3 separate regions of the Homo sapiens genome follow, and all the other regions are linked to region 3. The links are contacts of gene promoters, found by promoter capture Hi-C in blood cells and fetal thymus (Javierre and others, 2016). All regions are on one chromosome and are shown on one strand. Each heading gives the region's core, a stretch centred on a gene start or on the middle of the fragment in contact. The rest is flanking DNA. Distances are from core to core; before and after follow the strand shown.

Region 1 (3,216 bases), core at 94-2,593, 1.2 Mb before region 3:
TGCGCCACCATGCCCGGCTAATTTTTGTATTTTTAGTAGAGATGGGGTTTCTCCATGTTGGTCAGGCTGGTCTCGAACTCCTGATCTCAGGTGATCCGCCTGCCTCGGCCTCCCAAAGAGTTAGAGCTGGGATTACAGGCGTGAGCCACAGTGCACGGCCAGTTTTTTTTTTGTTTTTTGGTTTTTTTTTTGAGACAGAATCTTGCTCAGTTGCCCAGGCTGGAGTGCAGTGGCGCGATCTCAGCTCACTACAACCTCCGCCTCCCAAGTTCAAGTGATCTCCTGCCTCAGCCTCCTGAGTAGCTGGGATTACAGACATGTGCCACCACGCCCGGCTAATTTTTGTATTTTTAGTAGAGACAGGGTTTCACCATGTTGGCCGGGCTGATCTCGAACTCCTGACCTCAGGTGATCCACCTGCCTCGGCCTCCCAAAGTGCTGGGATTACAGGTGTGATCCACCGCGCCCAGCTTCACCCCTGTTTTTTAAGACAAGGAAGCAGAGACACAGAGAGGCTGTGTGATCAGCCAAAAATCACACAGCCTCTCCGTGTCTCAGCTAACAGAGCCTGGATTCAAACCCGGGCAGACCTCCTAGACTCTTAGCAGCAAAGGCATTGTTTCCTGTCCAGGATCTACCCTCCTTGGCATCTGCTCAGGAAAGGAGTGACCAACCTGACCGAAGGGCACCCTCCAGCCCCTTCTCCAGCACTGGAGGACATGACCTTTTAAATGCATGCTGTCCGGCTCGGTTGGCAGACATGCAGGACAGCCAGGGACATGATTGTCCTGCTGTTTCTGTGCAGTCATAAATCACCGCAGCCCCATCCCCTGGCTTCTGGCTTCCTCCTGTGGCTGGAAAGCTCCCTGATTAGTGCAGAGGCAGCAGCAGCATCTTCTGAAGCCAAGCAGCAATGCTCCCCGCCCTGTCCTCTGGGAACACTTCCCTGTCACTGCCTTAGCAGGCTGTCCTGCAGCAGAGGCAAAGAATGACAGGAAATCTCTGCAACCTGCCTCTCCTTCTGAGGATCTCAGGCCAGTGGAGGAGGCATGAGCCCAGGAGGCAGGACCCACAGGTTGAAGCACTGGCTTTGCCATTAATCTTCCTGAGTGACCTTGGGCAAATCACTTTGCCTCTCTGGTTCTCAGATTGTGCATCTATAAAATAGAGGAACCAGGTGGATGCGTCTTAAGATCTTCCAGTTTATAGCAACAGCTTTTCAGCTAATGGCCCTGTCTCAGTGTCTTTCCATTCTCCCCAGTGAAAAATCCAAAATATCTTTTTTTTTTCTTCTGAGACAGGGTCATGCTCTATCGCCCAGGCTGGACTAGCAGCCTCGACCTCCTAGGTTCAGATGATCCTCCCGCCTTAGCCTTCAGAGCAGCTGGGAATACAGGCTCACACCACCACGCCCAGTAGAAAAAAATTTTCTATTTTTTTTTTTTTTTTTTGTGGAGATAGGGTCTATGTTTAGTTGTCCAAGCTGGTCCCAAATTCCTGGGCTCAAGCAATCCTCCTGCCTCTACCTCCCAAAGTGCTGGGATTATACATATGAGTCACCACACCTGGGCAGTCTGGGCTTTTTCTTTTCTTTTTTTTTTTTCTTTTCTTTCTTTTTTTTTGAGACAGAGTTTTGCTCTTGTTGCCCAGGCTGGAGTGCAATGGCACAATCTCAGCTCACCGTAACCTCCACCTCCCAGGTTCAAGCGATTCTCTTGCCTCAGTCTCCTGAGTAGAAGAGATTGCAGGCATGTGCCACCACGCCCAGGTAATTTTGTATTTTTATTAGAGATGGGGTTTCTCCATGTTGGTCAGGCTGGTCTCGAACTCCCGACCTCAGGTGATCTGCCCGCCTCGGCCTCCTAAAGTTCTGGGATTACAGGTGTGAACCACTGCGCCTGACCCAGTCTGGGCTTTTTCAAAAGCTGTTCCTTGTGCTGAAAGCTCCTTCTATGCCCACCCCCATTAGACCCAGACCTCCTCATCCTTCAGACTCAGACACTGAGTTGAACTAACCACTCTCTCCTCAGTCCCCATGGGCTCTCCTGCCATGTTCTCTAGAGAAGAGCCCAGACCACCATATAGCACTCAGATGTATATGAGTCTGTCTTCCCTGGGGTCATATTCCTGAAAGACATAGACTCAGTCTGAGCCATCTCTGATCTCCAAGCCTAGCATGGAGCAGGTGCTCAGCGAAGTTGTGTTCAATGAAGGAGACTCTCTGCTTTAAGAAGGGAATCAGGGAAGGCACTGTGGCTCACACCTGCAACCCCATAACCCCAGCACTTTGGGAGGCTGAGGTGGGAGGATCACATGACCCCAGGAGTTGGAGGCTGCAGTGAGCTATGATGGCGCCACTGCACTCCAGCCTGGGCAACACAGTGAGACGCTATCTCAAAAAATTTTTAAAAAACAAAACAAAACAAAACAAAAACAATTTTTTAAAAGGAGACCAGGTGCAGTGCCTCATGCCTATAATCCCAGCACTTTGGGAGGCCAAGGCGGGTGGATAACTTGAAGTCAGGCATTCAAGACCATTCTGGCCAACATGATGAAACCCTGTCTCTACTAAAAATACAAAAATTAGCCAGACGTGGTGGTACACGTCTGTAATCCCAGCTACTTGGGGAGGCTGAGGTTGGAGAATTGCTGGAACCTGGGAGGCAAAGGTTGCAGTGAGCTGAAATCACGCCACTGTACTCCAGCCTGGGTGACAGAGCAAGACTCCTTTAAACAATAAAATAAAATTATCCCACCAAGGGAATGTGTGTCACCATGAAAAAAATGGGCCACTGTCTCAAAGAGACAAGTATGTTCAAGAGGGAGAAGAGCCTGGGCTGCAGTCTTCTCCCGAAACCCAGCTGTGTGAACTTAGGCCAAGTACTTTACCCATCTAGAGCTTGGGTTCCCCAACTGAATCTTAAAGAGAAATCTGTACCATGCCCTTTGAATCGAACTGTGAAATGAACAGCAGTATTCTTCGACTTCGTAGAAGAATCTGGAGTGTTTTGGTACTTGGAATACCAACAGAGGACAAATGACTTGTGGGGGACCCATAGTGGTGGGGATGATGGCAGCCTGTGGTTTTTCTTGTGTGTATGTGGGTGTGTGTGTGTGTGTGTGCGTGTGCACGCATGTGTATGTGTGTGTGCATATGTGTGTGTATTGCAACAGCGTCTCCCTTTGTCACTCAGGCTGGAGTGCAATGGTGTGATC
Region 2 (3,446 bases), core at 44-2,543, 1.2 Mb before region 3:
AGCTCAGCCTCCCAAAGTTGACAGGCGTGAGCCACCGCACCCACCTAATGAGAACTTTCTTAACCTTATTCTGCTTCTGCCATTCAACTTCAATTCTTTAGGTTCACCCCTTTCCAACTACTTATTTGTGTGATACTGTATTTTTTTCAAATACTTCAAGTGAAACAACATATCACAATAGGCCAGGTGCAGTGGCTCATATCTGTACTCCTAGTGCTCTGGGAGGCTGAGGCAGATCACTTGAGGCCAGGAGTTTGAGATCAGCCTGGACAACATAGTAAGACCCTGTCTCTAAAAAATAAAATGGCCCAGCTGGACGCAGTGGCTCACGCCTGTAATCCCAGCACTTTGGGAGGCCGAGGCAGGTGGATTGCCTGAGTTCTGGAGTTCAAGACCAGCCTGGGCAACACGGAGAAACCCCGTCTCTACTAAAATACAAAAAAATTAGCCAGGCATGGTGGCATGCACCTGTAATCCCAGCTATTCAGGAGGCTGAGACAGGAGAATCACTTGCACCTGGGAGGTGGAGGTTGCAGTGAGCCGAGATCAAGCCACTGCACTCCAGCCTGGGCAACAGAGCGAGACTCCATCTCAAAAATAATTAAGTAAAATGGCCCGGTATGGTAGCACTCCCAGCTACCTGGGAGGCTGAGGCGGGAACACGTGAGCCCAGGAGTTTGAGGCTGCAGTGAGCTATGATCGCACTGCTGCACTCTAGCCTGTGAGACAGAGCGAGACCCTGTCTTAAGAAAACACATATCACAACAGACTGGACGCCTAAGCAGAGAGTACGTGTGACTTAGCTCCCAAGAGATCTGCAAAACAGTAAAACAAAGCTACTCTTGCACCTGTAACGGGACATTACGCCAAAGGAACAAGGGTGAAATAGCGGCAACTTTCAGGGGATCTACCTTCCTTCTTCAGTGACCCTGTTAGAGCAAGCTTGACTGTTCTGATCTTGTTCATATCTGTGCCAAAAGTGTTTTTTTTTTTTTTTTGCCCTCAGTAACTGCAATACTAAAAGTGCTTGGTCAGTTAAGTGCGGTGGCTTGGCCTGTAATCCCGGCACTTTGGGAGGCCAAGGTGGGCGGATCACCTGAGGTCAGGAGTTCGAGACCAACCTGGCCAACATGGAGAAACCCCGTCTCTACTAAAAATACAAAATTAGCTGGGAGTGATGGCGCGTGCCTGTAATCCCAGCTACTCGGGTGGCTAAGGCAGGAAATCGCTTGAACCCGGGAGGCGGAGGTTGGGGTGAGCCAAGATGGCGCCACCGCACTCCACCCTGGGCAACAAGAGCAAAACTCCGTCTCAAAATAAATAAAATAAAAGTGCTTGGTCAATGTGTGCTGAAGAGTTGGTTGCTGCCGCTCGGCCTAGTTTCTTATGGTCTCCTAGCAGTGCAAAAGCAGCCTGGTGTGGGCAGACCAAACTCAGGCAGGCAGATGCGGGTTATCAGTGAGTTACAGCACCTTAGGTATAGCAGTCACTCCTAATTCTACAGCCATACACTTGCAGTGGCACCCAGGGTAGTTCTGGGTGACAAATGAGTCAACGTAAGTGAATTCACTGAGTATATGCCAAAAGCCTATTCACAGTGTGTTATCATTCCTGAAATGTGAATTAATGTTTCTCAGAAAATTAAGAAGCTTGGCCGGGCGCGGTGGCTCACACCTGTAATCCCAGCACTTTGGGAGGCCGAGGCAGGCGGATCACTTGAGGTCAGGAGTTTGAGACCAGCCTGGCCAACACGGCGAAACCCGGTCTCTATTAAAAATATAAAAATTAGCTGGGCATGGTGGTGGGATCCTGTAATCCCAGCTACTCAGAAGACTGAGACATGAGAATAGCTTGGAACCTGGGAGGTGGAGGTTACAGTGAGCTGAGATCGTGCCACTGCACTCCAGCCTGTCACAAAAAAATAATTAAAAGCTATGATCCAGTTATCATTTAAACCTACAACCACACCCACACCCACCCAGGCTAAGAAGTTTGAATAATTTGCCCAGGAATCAAAAGGGGCCATAATTCTGGGAGGATCACTTGAGCCCAGGAGTTCGAGCCCAGCCTAGGCAACATGGCCAGACCCCATCTGTTTTTTGTTTTGTTTTGTTGTTTAAAACGGGCAGGATGGGGCGTGCCATCACTCAAACTCAGGTCTGTGTTTCTCCCCAGTGGTACCCCGGAAAGGCCCTCAGAGATCCAGTTGAACAGGCTCGTTTAATATGAGAAAAATGGAGGCCCAAAAGGTGCAATGGTTTGGTTTTGTTTTTTCAACAGAGATAGGGTCTCAATATGTTGCCCAGGCTGGTCTCAAACTCCTGGCCTCAAGTGATCTTCCGGCCTCAGCCTCCCAAAGTGCTGGGATTACAGGTGTGAGCCACTGCGCCCACCCTAAAAGGTGCAATTTTTTTTTTTTTTTGGAGACGGAGTCTCACTCTGTTGCCCAGGCTGGAAGGCAGTGGTGCAATCTTGGCTCACTGCAACCTCCACCTCTTGGGCTCAAGTGATTCTCCTGCCTCAGCCTCCCGAGTAGCTGGTCCTACAGACACCCAGCACCATGCCCTGCTAATTTTTGTATTTTTAGTAGAGATGGGGTTTCACCATGTTGGCCAAGCTGGCCTTGAACTCCTGACCTCAGGTAATCCGCCCGCCTCAGCCTCCCAAAGTGCTGAGATTACAGGCATGAACCACTGCGCCTGGCCTGGTGCAATGGTTTTTTTAAGTCCCCAAACCCAAATCTGATTCCTGGTTGGAGGCGCTTTCCAGTATCTACTGTCTTTCCCCTTTTTCCTGCCAATCCAACTTCATTGCTTGGGCTGGGGAGGGAAGAGAACACCAACATCTGATCCAACCTTCAAAAGCAAAGGACAGTAAAACTCACACAATGAAGCTAAGGAGCACTGGCGTCAGATCTGTAAGTTTATTTGCTCAATGTACGACAGCTACATAATGACTCACATTCATGATATTCCATCACTGAGGAAACTGCTAAAGATGGTCCGTGTGTGAAATAATTCCTTAGAGAAACACGGAGCTGGAAAAATAATCACTGATTAGACCTTAAAAATAGTTCACTGCATAACATGACAAAAAGCACAAAGGCTCATTCAGAGAACATATTTGTTGTTCTCCAACACTGTAATAGTTATAATTTCACCATGACAAACACCAGACATTAAGATTAAGCTAACACTGGTGTTTCTTTTGCTCCCCCCCTTTTAAAAACAAAATATATAACTGCATGTCACTATAGCAACATCCAAAACAGATCAATTTGTTACAATCACTATTTGGTAGAGCAAACTTTACCCCCAAAAGGAAAAATTAAATTAAAAAAAAAAAACCTTTAAAAAATTTGAAGACTTAATTTTTTTTGTCATAGGAATACATAACACCTACAGTATAAGTTAATCAATTTCAAGCTACTGTATAGAAATACAACA
Region 3 (3,582 bases), core at 280-2,779:
CCAATCTGCTCTGTAAAAAAAGGTTTGTGGGTATAAATGACGAAAGTCAGTTCATGGATCAAATCCTTCAGTTCTGTCACATTGTGAGAGGCCACTGTTGTGAAAGTAAAATAACTTCTAGTTACGGCTCTGCTAAGAATACGCTGGGGGATGTCAGGAAGTCGCTTTATTTGTAAAATGATGAGTTAGACCAGAATATATTCTCTGATAGAAGTTTACAAAGATGAATAAAGATTTATAGGCTAGGCGCGGTGGCTCACGCCTAAAATCCCAACACTTTCGGAAGCTGAGGATCCCTAGTGCACAGGAATTCGAGATCAGCCTGGGCAACCTGGTGAGACCCCCTTCTCTACCAAAAATAAATAAATAAATAAATAATAAATTTTTAAAATGTATTAGCTGGGCTTGGTGACGTAGTGAGGCAGGAGGATGCCTTGAGCCCAGGAGTTCAAGGCTGCAGCGAGCCGTGATCATAGCACTGCACTTTGGCATGGGAGATAGAGCAAGACCTTAGCTCTAAAAAAAAAAAAAAAAAAAAATTAATAGATTTATAAAGTCCATTCTATGGAGGAAAGTCTCTTATTCAGTTATGAACTGCTGCGAACCTAAAGGCAGGAAGGCAAATTCCCTTCAGTTCGGCAAACACGAAGACCCCACATTCGCGTCGTCTGTGAAGAAGGCACTCCGAACCTCAGGCGCTCACTCGCCAGGTTTAAGAGGATGAGCAAAGAATAAAAGTCCTCTCACCCAGGAAGCGTTTCGCTTCCCTTAGCTGGAGCCACGCTCCAAGGTGCCAAAGCCTAATTGCTGTCCACTCTCACCAATCCGTTAGCAAGATGAGCATCTACCTGCTGCGAACGTGGCGGTGACACTACTACAGCTCCCAGCCTGCCTCCCGCCCGCCCCCACTCCTGGACTCCACAGACCGTGACTTGTAGTCCCAGCCCACGGCTGGCGGCGGTGCGGGACTCCTGAAAACTGCTTTTCCTCCCTAGTAGGCGGTGAGACCGCAAATTCCATCAGAATCCTACTCTGACCCACTAGGGCTTGGCCCGCTCAGAGTCGCATTCCCTCCTCCAAATGAACCAACTCTCCTCCCAGCGATACTCCGACCTCTGAGCACCCCGGGCGGGGCCACGCCCCGGAAATGGAGTCAGGTCTCCAGGCCGCCCGCTGAAGTGCCTTCCAGCCACTCCAAGCGGGGCTGGGGCCGGCGGGGCGGGCTTGGGGGCGTGGCCGGGAGGCGGGCGGGGATGCATCTGCGGGCGCAGCGCTTGGGGCGGAGCCGCAGCGCGAGGCCGCGCATCTGGGTGGCGGCGGGGACGCGCCCGTGGGGAGAGGCGGCTGCGGCTGCGGCTGCGGCTGCTGGCGGGGGGTGGGGGGGAGGAGGAACCGGGAAGGGGGGGCAGGGCGAGCGGAGAGCTAGCTGTGTTCCTGAGGCGGCGGCGGCGGCGGCGGCGGCGGCGGCGTCTCCGACGGAGGAGGAGGGCGGGGAAGGAGGATGGAGCAAGCTGGGGGTTGGGGTTGGCGCTAGCGCAGCGGCTCGCCTGGTACTGTGGGAGAGCGGCGGCTGCTCCTGGAAGTTGTGGTGTCGGGAGCCCAGCCGGTGCCGCCGCAGCCGCCGCCTAGGGCGGTGGGGAGGAGGAGGGAGCCGCGGGGCTTGGCGGGGTCGGGAGGGAGGGACGTGCTGGGGGAACGAGCTGGGGAAGACGGAGCGGGCTCTGTGCCGGGCGGGCGGGCGGCGGGGGGGCCAGCGACCGCAGCCGGGGGGACGCGGGAGGATGGAGCAAGTGGAGATCCTGAGGAAATTCATCCAGAGGGTCCAGGCCATGAAGAGTCCTGACCACAATGGGGAGGACAACTTCGCCCGGGACTTCATGGTGAGTCTCTCCCCTCGCTGTCGCGTTTTCTTGCCGGCGCCGGAGCCCATCGCCGCCTCTCCCGGCCGGGCCGCCAGTGCTTTGTGTACCTCTGTGAGGAGAGGGGCGGAGGGGGCGCGCACCAGCCGGGTGAGCCGGGTGGTCTCGGAGGCCAGCGGGAGGCGAGAGCGCCTCCCCCCGTGGCCTCCTTTCTTCTCCCATGTTCGCGACCCCCGCGCGGGTTCCCGGGACGCGAAGGGAGCGGCCGCGCGGCCGAGCCCGCAGCCTGCACCGTGGCTCGCGACCACCTATTGTTTACCGGGCCGGGAGCCGTAGGCAAGTGAGGTGCAGGCCGGGGGGGGGGGCTCGCGTTTCCACACCTCCCCGCGCAGTTCGCTCCTCCCAGGAGGGTCGAGGCAAGGTATCTGGCTGTGACCGGGAGGAGTGCAGATCGTGGCTGACAGAGGAACGGGGGTATTGAGGTTGGCACTAACTCCTGGGATCCCTTTGCTCTAGCTGGTCTCAAAGCGGGCAGGGTAGGACTTAGGCCGTTTCTGGGGTCGCAGTCATGATCTCCAACGCTTGGGAAAGGATTGCCCATAAGGAATCTCATGGGTTTACCTAATTTCCATTTACCCGCGTCCCGCTTCTCCTCTCCTGAGGCCCAGGTTTGAGGTGGTCTTGGGGTCCGTGTGACTATAGGTTCAGGGGATAAGTGTGGGTGGGGGAATTATCCTGAAGGAAGCCAGCCGACTTCGGACTCCCCAGGGGATATTGCCGAAGGCGGAGGGGATGTGACTATCACTTCCTATCCGGGGTGGGGGTGGGGAACTTGGGAACAATAGTCCTGGTGGGGCGGAGGCGACGCTACGGGCCGAAGCCCTGAACTGGGAGATAACCTTCCCAGCGCCCCCCCGCCTCCGCCACCCCCTACTTTCCGCCCTCTGCTTGTGCAGGCAGTCTTGAGAGGAGGTGAAGGTTAAAAGTCTTGTTCATGAAATTGCTCTAGATACACTATTGCTTTAGCACACTGTGAGGGGGTCAGATCCGAAGGCGTGAGACCAGAAGTCGACTTCCTACGTTACCCACCCCCCCAACCCCCGCCCTTTTTATTTTTCTGCTGGACAATGTTCCCTCTAGGGTTGTTTCCCGGCTTAGGAGGCGGTGGTTGCGGCTGCTGCTCCTACGGATATTGCGCAAGACTGGGGCGTTGGAAACCCTGTAGGTCTGGGGAATGAAAAAGGAAGTGGGACTTTGGGAAGTGGTTGCTCCTTAGTCTTGGCGGGGGTTGGGAATGGGAAATAAGCTGGGGAAAATTTTTATCTTGGGTAAGGTACACCTCGAAGAATAATCACTTAATTCTGAAATCTGATTATGAGAAGGATACACAGTTAATGCCTGTAAAATGAATGGGCAGCAAACATTGGCTAGTTTTTATTTTTTGTTTAAAAAGTACAGTAGTTTTTATGGTGGAGGTGATATGACTTAGTAGTGAATACTTTTTCACGTTTTAAAGAGACTGGTCTAGTAAAGCTTTAGCGTTAAATTTTTAACAGCTTATAAAATAGGCCCTTGACCATACACAGTATTATACTAGCATCGTTGAGCTTTGTGATTCCCGCCTCCCCAGACCAATAATAGAGGACGGAAGTAAAGTTTTCTCAGTATCTTTTGAAGATTGAAAATATAAGTTAAATAATCTAACTTATTCCTTATTAAAAAT

What was found. The method cuts DNA at HindIII sites, captures the fragments that hold promoters and counts their contacts. A CHiCAGO score of 5 or more calls a contact.
Region 1: a contact is called between a fragment that was not itself captured here and the fragment with the promoter of PTPN12 in region 3, in 1 of 17 cell types (neutrophils). The highest score is 6.0, in neutrophils.
Region 2: a contact is called between a fragment that was not itself captured here and the fragment with the promoter of PTPN12 in region 3, in 1 of 17 cell types (M0 macrophages). The highest score is 5.1, in M0 macrophages.

The regions. Positions count from the first base shown.
Region 1 is chr7:76,365,241-76,368,456 of GRCh38, forward strand. No RefSeq gene overlaps it. Among named protein-coding and RNA genes, the nearest start is that of YWHAG, 7.9 kb to the left of the region's middle. The HindIII fragment of the contact is 7,431 bases long and covers 1-3,216 here.
Region 2 is chr7:76,323,890-76,327,335 of GRCh38, forward strand. YWHAG (tyrosine 3-monooxygenase/tryptophan 5-monooxygenase activation protein gamma) reads right to left here. Exons shown (of 2, transcript NM_012479.4): 2 at 2,910-3,446. Among named protein-coding and RNA genes, the nearest start is that of FPASL, 7.4 kb to the left of the region's middle. The HindIII fragment of the contact is 707 bases long and covers 941-1,647 here.
Region 3 is chr7:77,535,766-77,539,347 of GRCh38, forward strand. PTPN12 (protein tyrosine phosphatase non-receptor type 12) reads left to right here and starts at 1,530. Exons shown (of 18, transcript NM_002835.4): 1 at 1,530-1,880. The coding sequence starts at 1,782. LOC124901681 (a long non-coding RNA gene) reads right to left here and starts at 1,184. Exons shown (of 3, transcript XR_007060395.1): 1 at 606-1,184; 2 at 1-516. RefSeq lists enhancers at 610-659, 830-1,049 and silencers at 1,120-1,419, 1,670-1,879, 2,020-2,069. The HindIII fragment of the contact is 6,799 bases long and covers 1-3,390 here.